2 separate regions of the Homo sapiens genome follow, and region 2 is linked to region 1. Evidence: promoter capture Hi-C in 16 types of primary human blood cells and fetal thymus (Javierre and others, 2016). All regions are on one chromosome and are shown on one strand. The core of a region is centred on a gene start or on the middle of the fragment in contact, and the rest is flanking DNA. Distances in the headings are between cores, read along the strand shown.

Region 1 (5,685 bases), core at 1,754-4,253:
AAGGACATGATTTCATTTTCAATGGCTGAATTTCGCGGTGTATATATATACCACATTTTCTTTATCCAATCATTCACTGATGGACACTCAGGTTGATTTCTTATCTTTGCTACTGTTGTTATTGGAAGGAAGGTCATGAGTGTGAGGTGTCCAGTTCCTTGGCATTTTGAACAAAGAACTGCACAAAAGGAACGAAACACAGGAATGAAGCAGCGAAAGCAGGGATACTGAAGCAAGAAAGCACCCCATGGGGTGGGAGTGGGCCCAAGCAAGCGGCTCAAGGGTCCGGTTACAAAGTTTTCTGGGTTTTAATACTCCTTTTGAGGTCCCTTATCGGTTACCCCTTATCTGCATGAAGGATTTGGTCCGTGGCTAATTAAAGGCTGAGGTGAATTGGCTCCCTATGCAGATGAAGGGATGGCCCATGCTTAGTCCACGGACAATCCAAGGCACTTTCCCCTTCCATCTGAGAGGTGGTGGAAGGCAGTCGATCGTAGGGAGAGTAGCCTTTGGTCCTTTGCTACTTGGGCATGGGGAGATGGGTTTTTTCCTTTTGGTCTAGCTTTAGGAAGTTTGCGTTAATTGGTTAACTGGCTTTAGGTTACCTGCCCCCAGACGCAGGTGTTTTCTCTTTTAGGAAGTCAGCACAAATTGGCCTTAGATTTCCTGCCCCCAGACCTTGGTGTTTTCCTTTGATTTAGCTTTAGGAAGTCAGCACGAATTGGCCTTAAGTCCTCTGCCTCCAGACCCTATTCTACTGCCTCACTGTGAATAGTGCTGAGATAAAAATGAATGCGGGTATCTTTTTGATATAATGAATTATTTTCCTTCGGGTAGATACCCAGTAGTGAGATTGCCTGATCAAATGGTAGTTCTATTTTCAGTTCTTTGAGAAATCTTCATACTTTTTTCTACAGAAGTTGAACTGACATTACCATCAATAGTTTATAAACGTCCCCTTATAACATTTACTGAACATTCTGTAATAATTCCCATAATTCTTAGATTTTTAATTCTTATTTTTATATTAAATGGATCAGTCACCAATACCAAGCTTTTTATAACATGGTTTCAGCATTCCTGAGTTTTGTACCCACACACTTTACATAGAGTAATAAGTCAAATTTTCTAAATTAATGAGATTAAAAGGTCTTATTAAAATAAATGTATGGAATCTAAATGTCTTTAAGAAGGTAACAGTTTCGAATTCTGACACAACAACAAAAAATCATGGTCACCATGATCTAGAATTCTGGCCCGATAACAATTATTTATTTACAGAAAATAAATTACATAGTAAGTCATAAATTCAGTCCAACAACTGGACTCAGCCTCCACTTAAATATAATCCATAATCTAATGTCAAAAACAATTTTAGAGTTAAACCAAAGAATCAGAAAGAATTATTGGCTGTAATGAACATCAAAAGATATATTTACTTCTAACAAGAATATATGGCCAGCTGATTGTTAATAAAACGGAAAAAAAATAAGGTAAGGAGGACGAGAAGCATTAGAGCTTTCCAATGTCTTCTGCATCCTGGGCATGTTATTTTTCTCAGTTCAACACACGTTTGAAGACCTATTATATTCTAAGCACTATGCTAGGTTCTGTAGACACAAAAATGATTAACTCTATTGTCAAAGGGCTTAGAATCACTTGTCTCTGAGGTTGAAAGCATTATTCTCACTCTTCATATACAGAAAACTGCAACTACGAGAAGTTTATTGCTGACGTTAAAAAGTGGCCCGGGGAGCTGGCTTTAAAACTAAGTGTTTCTGACTCAAAGAGACATTAGCCAAAGATGTCTTACCGGTTGAGAATCACTTACGATGCTAGTTAAAAATACAGATTCTCAGGTCCCTCTCCCTAGACACAGTGTTTCAAAAGATCTGAAATGAAGTCCAAGGAATCTCTGCTTTTGCAAATTATCACAGGGGATATTCATAATCAGGTGAAATTTGTTAAGAACACCACACATCTCACTGAAACGAAGTTTAAGCAAGTCTCTCAGACCAAGGTACAGGCAACTTTTTGTTTTCTTAAACTCTCTGGAGGGCGCAGAGTCACCTCCAAAAGTCCCAAATGAATCCCTTCACCCAGAGCAAAGAAGAATTTCTTCACCACATTTAAGTTTTTAAGATTTGACTTTTCCAGTTTTTGCCAATCCTCAGAGATCCAAACTATTGTCGCCTTATGCAATTCTCTGGCATCACAAGACAGCATCAAAAAACAACAGAGCACCACCCTTTCCCTCGTCTTCCTTCAGGTGCTGATTCATTTTGGATGTGCATCGCTAGGAAAAAGGGCTGCTGAATATAAATCGCAAAACTTCAATGGTGGATGACAACTTCTACACCCGTGAAGTTACACAGCTAGTTAATGGCGGGGCCAAGACCAGAATCTACACTTGCAGAACCTCTGCTCTGAGCTTTTCCCTACTCAACCTGACCTGTCCTGAAAGCGTAAGGGTGGCCTGGCCGCGCGTGTGGGACCGACCCGAGGAGGGACGAGAGACAGCAAAGAAGGCTGTGGTTCCTGCCCGGGAGGCGGGGGCTGCAGATTCCCCTCAGCTGCGCGTTTGCCTGGCCCTCACTTGGCAAAGGACAGCGAATGCAAATGAGGATGACTGTTAGGAATTTTTAACGAGTGTAGAGAGAGGTGTCAAGAAGAAGCCGCGAGAGAGGAGAGGGCAGGGACGCCTTCTCCCGTAGGCACAAATCCGGAGAGGACAACCAGGTCCGCGAGTGGCAATACGGGAGACCCCACGCGCCCCCAGCCTCGAGGTTCCTGAGCACCCATTCCGCCCCGGCCCGGCGTCCCAGTCTCAGCACAAAGGCCGCACAGGGCGAAGTTGCCGTCGGGTCCCCCGACCCGAGTCCCCTTCTTGGCGCCCCCGCCGCACCCCCCGCTAAACTTACCGGCAGACCCAATGGTTCTTCGATGCTGGAACAGCGGGAACAAGCAACACCCAACCACCCGAGAGCGACCCCAGCTGACCAGTGGAGCGCGAATCCCACGGACCCGGATGCAGATAAAGGCGCAGGAAGGAACCGCGGCGTGGCTGGCGGGCGCTGCGCATGCGCACCGCCTTTAGGACGCCTGAGGTGAGACGCGAGGAGTTCGGTCCGAGTGCGGTGCGGCTGGGCGCTCTTCTTGCCTGGAAGATCGCAGTTTCTGGGTCATCACTTTACGCTACTTTCCCCTCCCCCCCATCTTTCAAAGAGGGATTTGCAGTAGATTCTTTAGGCTTATGAGATTTAGTATGTAAGACCGTAGTGCTCACACGTACTTTGTTGCTTATGTTGCTGTTTGGCAACATGAATATATTTGCCATTTATGAATACATTTCTCTCTCTACTCCAAGCTATTGAATGCATATTTGCAAACGCAATGACAGATAAGCGTCTTGTGTCAAAAAACTCATCAAAGTTTGCAAAAGGGCAAACAGTACCATGGGAAATCGGGAGCGTCTCAGTAAGAGAAAACACTATATAATAGGGTACTGGCTTTTGCTGAATGAGTCTAAGAAAGGGATAGGGGAAGCTGGAATCAGCTTTGAGCTGGGTATCACAGATGTTTATACAGGAGTGGGAAGGAATTGGGCTGTGGAAATTATTGTAAAGAAAGCAGCTATCATTCAAAAGGAGAAAAGTGTGTTGTGTCTTCACCATGTTCCATCAGGAACACTGTTCCATTAATAACACCGTTTAGGGTTCTGTTAGGAACAATACAATCTTGACTCCTAGCCAACTTAAGGTTCTGTTTCTGTGGAAACTACAAGTTAAAAAAATGTAAAACGCTGTGTCCTCAAACTCGTTATATGAAGTTTTTCACCTGGGTTGTAAATCCAGCCTGCTTCTTTGAATGTAATGACTCCTCTTGCATCCTTTAGTGAAGAGTAGGATGTTACATTCTCGTTGATTTAGCTTCAAACAGCAACATTGCTCACATACTGATAATAGACAGGTTTATTAGTACTATCGCCTTCAGTAAGTTTGCAAAAGCGATTTTTGGCCAGATTCGGTGACTCACGCCTGTAATCCCAGCACTTTCAGAGGTCATGGTGCATGGATGGCTTGAACCCAGGAGTTGGAGACCAGCCTGGGCAACATAGCAAGACCCTGTCTCTCCAAAAAAGATTGAGGTAAAATGATGAAGTAGTTTGTAGGCTATGCATAGAATTTAGGCTTTGTATTGTAGGCAATAGGGAGTCACTTAAGCTTTATGAATTGAAGATAAGAGACTAGAACATACGTGTTTTAGAAAGAATGCTGTAGAAAGGTGGAGACTGAATTACAGTCTTGAATTACAGATATGTGCCACATAAGGAAGTTTAGGTAAAGAATGGACTGGATATTTGGCAATGGTCCCATAAGATTATAACAGAACTGAAAAATTCCTATCACCTAGCGACATTGTAGTAAACGTAAAGTTGTAGAGCAACACCACTCGTGTTTGTGGCTACATAGGTGTAAACCTACTGTGCTTCCAGTCTCATAAAAGTCTAGCACATACAATTATGTACAGGATATAATACTTGATAATAAATGACTATGTTACTGGTATATGTATTTGCTATATTATACTCTTTATCATTATTTTAGAGTGTATTCATTCTATTTCTATTTTTATTTTTATTTATTTGTTTATTTTTTTGAGACAGAGTCTCGCACTGTCACCCAGGCTGGAGTGCAATGGCACAATCTTGGCTCACTGCAACCTCTGCCTCCTGAGTTCAAGCAATTCTCCTGCCTCAGCCTCCTGAGTAGCTGGGATTACAGGCAGCTGCCACCACGCCCGTCTAATTTTGTTTTATTTTTAGTAGAGACGGGGTTTCACTTATTAGCCACGCTGGTCTCGAACTCCTGACCTCGTGATCTGCCTGCCTCGGCCTCCCAAAGTGCTGGGATTATAGGCGTGAGCCACCATGCTTGGCCCTATTTATATTTTTAAAAGTTAACTATAAAACAGCCTCAAGGAGGTCTTTCAGGAGGTATTCCAGAAGAAGGCATTGTTATTATAGATGAGAGCTCCATGTGCATTATTGCCCTGATGAACTTCCAGTGGGATAAGATGTGAAAGTGAAAGACAGGGAGATTGATAATCCTGACCTTGTGTAGGCCTAGGCTAACATGTGTGTTTGTGTCTTCATTTTAACAAAAAAATTTGAATAGGAAAAAAATTAAAAATAGATTTTAAAATAAAAAAACTTATAGAATAAGGATATAAAGAAACAAAATATTTTTGGACAGCTCTCCAATGTGTGTTTTAACCTTAACGTTGTTACTAGAGTCAAAAAGTTTTTTTTTTTTCTGAGACAGAGTCTCACTCTGTTGTCCAGGCTGGAATGCAGTGTCGCAATCTTGGCTGACTGCAAACTCTACCTCCCAGATTCAAGCAATTCTCCTGCCTCGGCCTCCCGAGTAGCTGGGACTACAGGCGCATGCCACCACACCCGGCTAATTTTTTGTGTTTTTAGTAGAGACGGGGTTTCACTGTGTTAGCCAGGATGGTCTCGATCTCCGGACCCCATGGTCCCCCCTCCTCAGCCTCCTATAGTGCTGGGATTACAGGCGTGAGCCACCACTCCCGGCCAAAAAGTTTTTTAAAAATTTAAATATAAAGTAAGAAAGCTACAGGAAATTAAATTTACTATTGAAGAAAAAAAACATCGTTTTATAA
Region 2 (6,032 bases), core at 3,007-5,506, 7.1 Mb after region 1:
GGGGTGGGGACAGGGCAGCTGGGAGGTCTGGGGCATTTCTGGGGCTTGAGGAGCTGCTTGGGGCCTCGGGTTGAGGGTGAGGGAATGCCATGATGAGATGAGAGAGATGGCAAAGGAAGACTGTGGGTGGGGGTACCTGTGTCTGGGTGTGGGTGGCCTCACAAGAAGCAGTTCTGACTAGACCCCTGTTTGGAGCTGGAATTGGGTAAAATTTCGAAAGAGATGAAATCTATTCTTGGCATTTCATCTCCAAGAGCTCTTCTCCTCTCTTGCTTCATGTAAAGTACCTTCCCACTGCCTTAAAATACTGGCCCCCCAAGCCAAGCCTTCCTCCTCCCACTGCTCCACAGCCTGAAACTGTTCACTTAACCCACCAGCCCCCTAACAGAATTCCCATCATTTGAGTGCAGGCTCAGATGTCAACCAGACTCGGGAGGAAAGCTAACAGAGTGGAACTAATCTCTCACTAACAAAATTACTGAGAGCCATGGATTGTTCCCTAAAGCCCCTGGCTTTTAAAAATAAAATACTTGTTAACTTGAATGTTTAATCTAGGAATTCTTAACTCAGGAGCTGGTGGGGTAGCATGAGTGGGTTGCAGGCCTTTGATAATCATCACTGTGAATGATTAGTAAAAGGGGTCTGTGACCCCTAAAATGTTAAGGACCATTTGCTTTAACCTGTCTTAGCTGAGGCAGTGTAACAAAGTAAAATGTAAGCATTCGGGTTAGTTGGAAATAAATATTTTTCAATGGGGTAAGCTAGTGGTTTGCATGTGTTTGTGTGCGTGCCTGCAGATGAACATATGTGTGTGTGTCCAAATTTATTTCTTTTTCAATTTTGGAACCATAGATTTTTCTTCAGTGCTTGGATTCATTGCTTTCCTCCCACCAACATAGCCCCTGTGGTAGATTCAACTGGGGGTTCAGATCTGAGTGTTGGGCAGAACGGGGTGGCTGAGGCGGCTGTAACCCGGTTGTAGGGTCTGGAATCTGCTTAATCATGGGTTTTTGACATACTTCATGCTCTTCCCCACTAGGACAGGAAGTTCTTACTTCCATAACACATTATCATCACCAAGGAAGTGAGCACATATTTTCCACAGCTCCCATCCTCCTCTTCCCTCCCCCATTTCCTATTGCTGTCTGCCTTCCCCATCCACTCTCCCAGAATGCTTCACTTTGCCATAATGAGATGCTCAGCTGCCATGCAGCCACCAACAACCGGAGATGGATGGGGTCTCCTGTACTGCCCTGAGAGGGATGTTAGAAAGACACTGTATTCATGGTAGCAGGCTAGAGAAGGCAAGGAGAAATTAAGAGCCTGACAATACACAGAAGCCATTATCCAAATAAAATGATTATTCTTTCTGTCCAGCCCCTGCTAGCTGGAGTAATTGAAACAATGCTATATTTATGAAAAACACCATAAAGGTCATGCATTGTTTAGACTCAGTTGGAAAATTGCACCTTCTGAGATCAAATTTAATGCAGCATCATTAGGACTTGATTAGCTCAATGCAGAATAAGGTGAAAGTACTCAATTCAGAGAAGAACATGTGGTAATGAATGAATACATTTTTATTCAAATACTTTGTTAATTCCCTAGGCAGGTGTGATTTCCATAAAATAAAAGGTCCTGAGTAAAAAGGAAAAGAGTCAGTTTAAGAATTCTATGGCTGTACTGGAATAAAATATTAGCAAAAAGACTTGCTAATGCTACCCTGATAGTGATGTGTTAAGAAATCTTAGGCCGGGCGCGGTGGCTCACGCCTGTAATCCCAGCACTTTGGGAGGCCGAGGCGGGCGGATCACGAGGTCAGGAGATCGAGACCACGGTGAAACCCCGTCTCTACTAAAAATACAAAGAATTAGCCGGGCGCAGTGGCGGGCGCCTGTAGTCCCAACTACTCGGGAGGCTGAGGCAGGAGAATGGCGTGAACCCGGAAGGCGGAGCTTGCAGTGAGCGGAGATCGCGCCACAGCACTCCCGCCTGGGCGACAGAACGAGACTCCGTCTCAAAAAAAAAAAAAAAAAAAAAAAAAAAAAAAGAAATCTTAGAAGTTAGAAATAATTTACAAATAAATGATATTTTCTCTATATCCAGGAGAGGCAAAAAAAAATCATTGCTAAACGAAATTAAAACTGAAACACAGATGTCAAATATAATTGGAAAATTCTTAGCTTTTCTGAGAGATTTCTAAGATGGCTCCTTCATGAGGAAAGATATCAGGATTTTCTAGAAAATTTAAAAGTATAGGGCCAGGCACTATTGCTCATACCTGCAATCCCAGCACTTTGAGAGGCTTGAGGCGGGCAGATCACTTGAAGTCAGGAGTTAGAGACCAGCCTGACCAACATGGTGAAAACCTGTCTCTACTAAAAATACAAAATTAGCCGGGCATGGTGGCACACGCATGTAGTCCCAGCTACACGATGAGCCACAAGAATCACTTGAACTCAGGAGATGGAGATTGCAGTGAGCCAAGATCATGCCACTGCACTCCAGCCTGGGTTCTCAGTGATATATCGAAGTCGAGAATTTATAACATTCAGCAGAGCTTCATTAGACACTCTGAATAAATAATCTCATTTGCTGTGGGGATAAGGTCAAAAGGGTAAAATAAATAAGAATTTAGTAACCTGGATGTAATCCTTCTGACCCATACTTTTCATTATATAGATCTATAAAAGGAGCCTGAGTGGCTAGATGTTCATCCCTAAAAAGAGGCCTGGTTTCACTTTATTTATTTATTTATTTATTTGAGGCAGGGTCTCATTCTGTCACCAAGGCTGGAGTGCAGTGGCGTGATCTCAGCTCACTGCAGCCTCCACCCATAGGGCTCAAGGGATCCTCCCACCTCAGCCACCTGAGTAGCTAGGATTACAGGCAGCTGCCACCACACCCAGATAATTTTGCATTTTTTTGTAGAGATAGGGTCTCCCTGTGTTGGCCCAGACTGGTATCAAACTCTTGGGCTCAAGTGATCCACCCACCTCAGCCTCCGAAAGTGCTGGGGTTTCAGGCATGAGCCACCATGCCCAGCCTGATTTCACTATCTTTTGAGAGCATGTTAACAACCATATTATTGTATCCTTATAAATAATCTCTGAGGTATATAGGGGCATATATTAACCTGATTAAAAAGAGAAGGAACTGGCCAGGTGCGGTGGCTCATGCCTGTAATCTCAGCACTTTGGGAACTGAGGCGGGCAGATCACCTGAGGTCAGGAGTTTGAGACCATCCTGGCCAACATGGCAAAACCCCGTCTCTACTAAAAACACAACAATTAGTCGGGTGTGGTGGCGTGTGCCTGTAATCCCAGCTACTTGAGAGGCTGAGGCAGGAGAATCACTTGAACCCAGGAGGCAGAGGTTGCCGTGAATGGAGATCCCACCACTGCACTCCAGCCTGGGCGACAGAGTGAGACTCCGTCTCAAAAGAGACAGAGAGAGAGAGAGAAAAGGAAGGAAGAAGGGAAGGAGAGAAGGAGGGAATGAGGGAGGGAAGGAAGGAAGGAAGGAAGGAGAAGGAAGGAAGGAAGAAAGGAGAAGGAAGGAAGGAAGGAAGGAAGGAGGGAAGGAAAGAAAGAAAGAAAGAAAAGAAGGAAAGGAAGAAAGAAAGAAAGAAACTAAAGCCCAACACAGGAATATTAAAAACATGGAGTCTGGCTACTTAGGGGCACGTTTACTTATTAGCTGGGTGGCAAGTTACCGAAGCTCTTGAAGCTTCAGTTAACTTACCTGTAGATTGGGGATACTATTAGTTATTAGTACTCCACTGTGTTGTTGTGAAGTTAAGTAGATTAGTTTACCAGTACAGTACTATTAGAGTAGTGCCCGTCACATAGGAAGCATTAAGAAAGAAGTTGTTATCACTTGGGACAGCAAATTCAGTTGGTCATATTTGGAGAAAGAAAACTATCCTGCCCTCTATGGATAAATTCTCCTTTCGGAGGGGGTTTATTTTCATTTCCAAATACTAGAAACCCACCTAGCCTGACATTTTATTACTAAAGGAGTTCTGCCAACTCTCTCACTGTAATCTAAGGCCAAATTAATTCCTCTCTGTCCTGTGTTCTTTCTTATTCTCTTTAAATCTTACCAGGGACACATTTATCTGTCTGTGCAGGCCCAACTTATTTTCAGTCTCAAGAACTATGCTATTCTTCCTCCTACTCCCAATCCCAACACATGCAGGAAAAGCATGCTACAGTGGGCTTAGCAGAATTTAGGGGAAAGCGTAACATTTGATTGAAGAGCTCTGCTGTTTTTTTTCTCTTACTAGACTTCTCCATATCACATTCTAATCTAGGCTTAGGGCATTTCAAAATATATCTGATTAAAATTAATATTGTATGACTAATAAAATAGAAAAATTCCAATTAAATTAGGTATCATTAACATGGAGTAACTTGCTTCAATATTACCTTAAAGCAGTAACTGGGTGAAATGAAATGGCATAAAGACTGCATCTCCAAATATCTCTACCCATCACAGTCCCAAGATATTCAATTATTAATTTTTTTCTCCAGGGATTCAAATATAAATGTACAGAAGTATAACATTATTATCTCAGTAAACCTCTCCATGGGGATCATGTTCTTTGGGAATACTACAAATGAGAAAAAAAAAAGTGAAGTATTGATTTACATATTGAAAAAAATCCTGAATGAAATACATAAAAAAGAAGGCAACATTTCAACCATGAAGCAGACTTGTATTAGATTGGCATAGTAACTTTCAGATGGGAAGGGAGAGTAGTTTACCTATCTTTGGAATTTGAAGCTTTGATATTAGACAGTGTGGTACAGGGGATAGAGTTGAGAAACCTGAATTTAAGCCCTGTTTTGTTATCAACTAGCCAAGTGACTCAGATTAAACATTTAACTCCTTTGGATGTCAAGTCTCTTATTTTTAAAATGAAGATGTTGGATTTGATAATCACCAAGGTTCCTATCCAGATCTAAAATTTCATGTACGGTAAACATTCATTTTAAGGGGTATGGTTAACCAGTGCCTACCACAATATTTGAAAGCATTGTACTAGGTGCTAGGCAAGTAAAAAGATAACTATAACAAGTTTCCTGATATCAGAGGTTTATATGGTGTGGATTATTTAAATGACCAGGTAATATTTGCAGAGCATTATGTAGTCATTTTATTATACTTTGTAAAACGTGGGGGCAGTGAGGGTCAGCCGACTAGGAATGAGCTTTGCCTCTCAATCCTTAGGCTATAGCTGACTCTTTATAAAGATCTGGGTAAATTACCTCTAAGTCTGTTTTCTACTTGAAAATAATCATACTGACTCAACTGAAAGCAATGTTGAGAAATAACAGAGGTTGTACATTCTATAAATTTTTATGGACACCATGCATATGCCAGGCCAGTGTTGGGAGCTGGGGCAAAGCAGCCGACCCATCCTTCATCTAGCTTAACTCTTATACACATTATTATAAAGTATGCTGCAAATAAATTAATAGAGCAAATGACTAGCTATAATTAATTGTGGGCTTATTGTAATTTAGAGGTGTCACGAAGGAAGCCCTTTTCTGTGCAAAATAACATGTGTCTCAGTCTTTGAAGTACCATGGTAAACGGTAAAAAAAAAAATCATAAATATTACACACACAAAAGATTTGAAACTTGTATTAAATGACATATAATTTATTATTTCCTAGATGTAGATTAAGCTGAAACATAAATAGAATAAAGAATGCAGGAGCAGCTTCCCTGCTCAGAGTAAGGGCGGATATTCTTACTGCTAGATCTGCCCAACAAGCAATCCCCTATCTCAGAGTCCAGAGGTACCTACCCATCACTGTGGGGCCCCGCTGAGGTACTGTCATGATAAAGGTGATCAATAAGGATGTTCTATGAGAGATTCTTGTCTTGCGAAAGAACCTGAAGCAAATAATAAATAACTTCAGGTACAGTTCTGAGATTCCATAAAGTGATTCATAAATGTTTGAATGATAAAAATATTATATAAATAGTATTATAAGGATGTAATTTATTAAAGAGAAATT

What was found. Contacts are between HindIII fragments. The CHiCAGO score rates a contact against its expected background, and 5 or more counts as called.
Region 2: a fragment that was not itself captured here is called in contact with the fragment with the promoter of GNPDA2 in region 1 in 1 of 17 cell types (total B cells); the score reaches 5.0 in total B cells.

What each region holds. Positions count from the first base shown.
Region 1 is chr4:44,723,553-44,729,237 of GRCh38, forward strand. It overlaps GNPDA2 (glucosamine-6-phosphate deaminase 2), which reads right to left and starts at 3,004. Exons shown (of 7, transcript NM_138335.3): 1 at 2,922-3,004. RefSeq lists a silencer at 2,420-2,714 and an enhancer at 3,207-3,336. The HindIII fragment of the contact is 3,169 bases long and covers 1,053-4,221 here.
Region 2 is chr4:51,835,636-51,841,667 of GRCh38, forward strand. It overlaps a transcript of DCUN1D4 not described here. Among named protein-coding and RNA genes, the nearest start is that of DCUN1D4, 4.5 kb to the right of the region's middle. The HindIII fragment of the contact is 1,059 bases long and covers 3,728-4,786 here.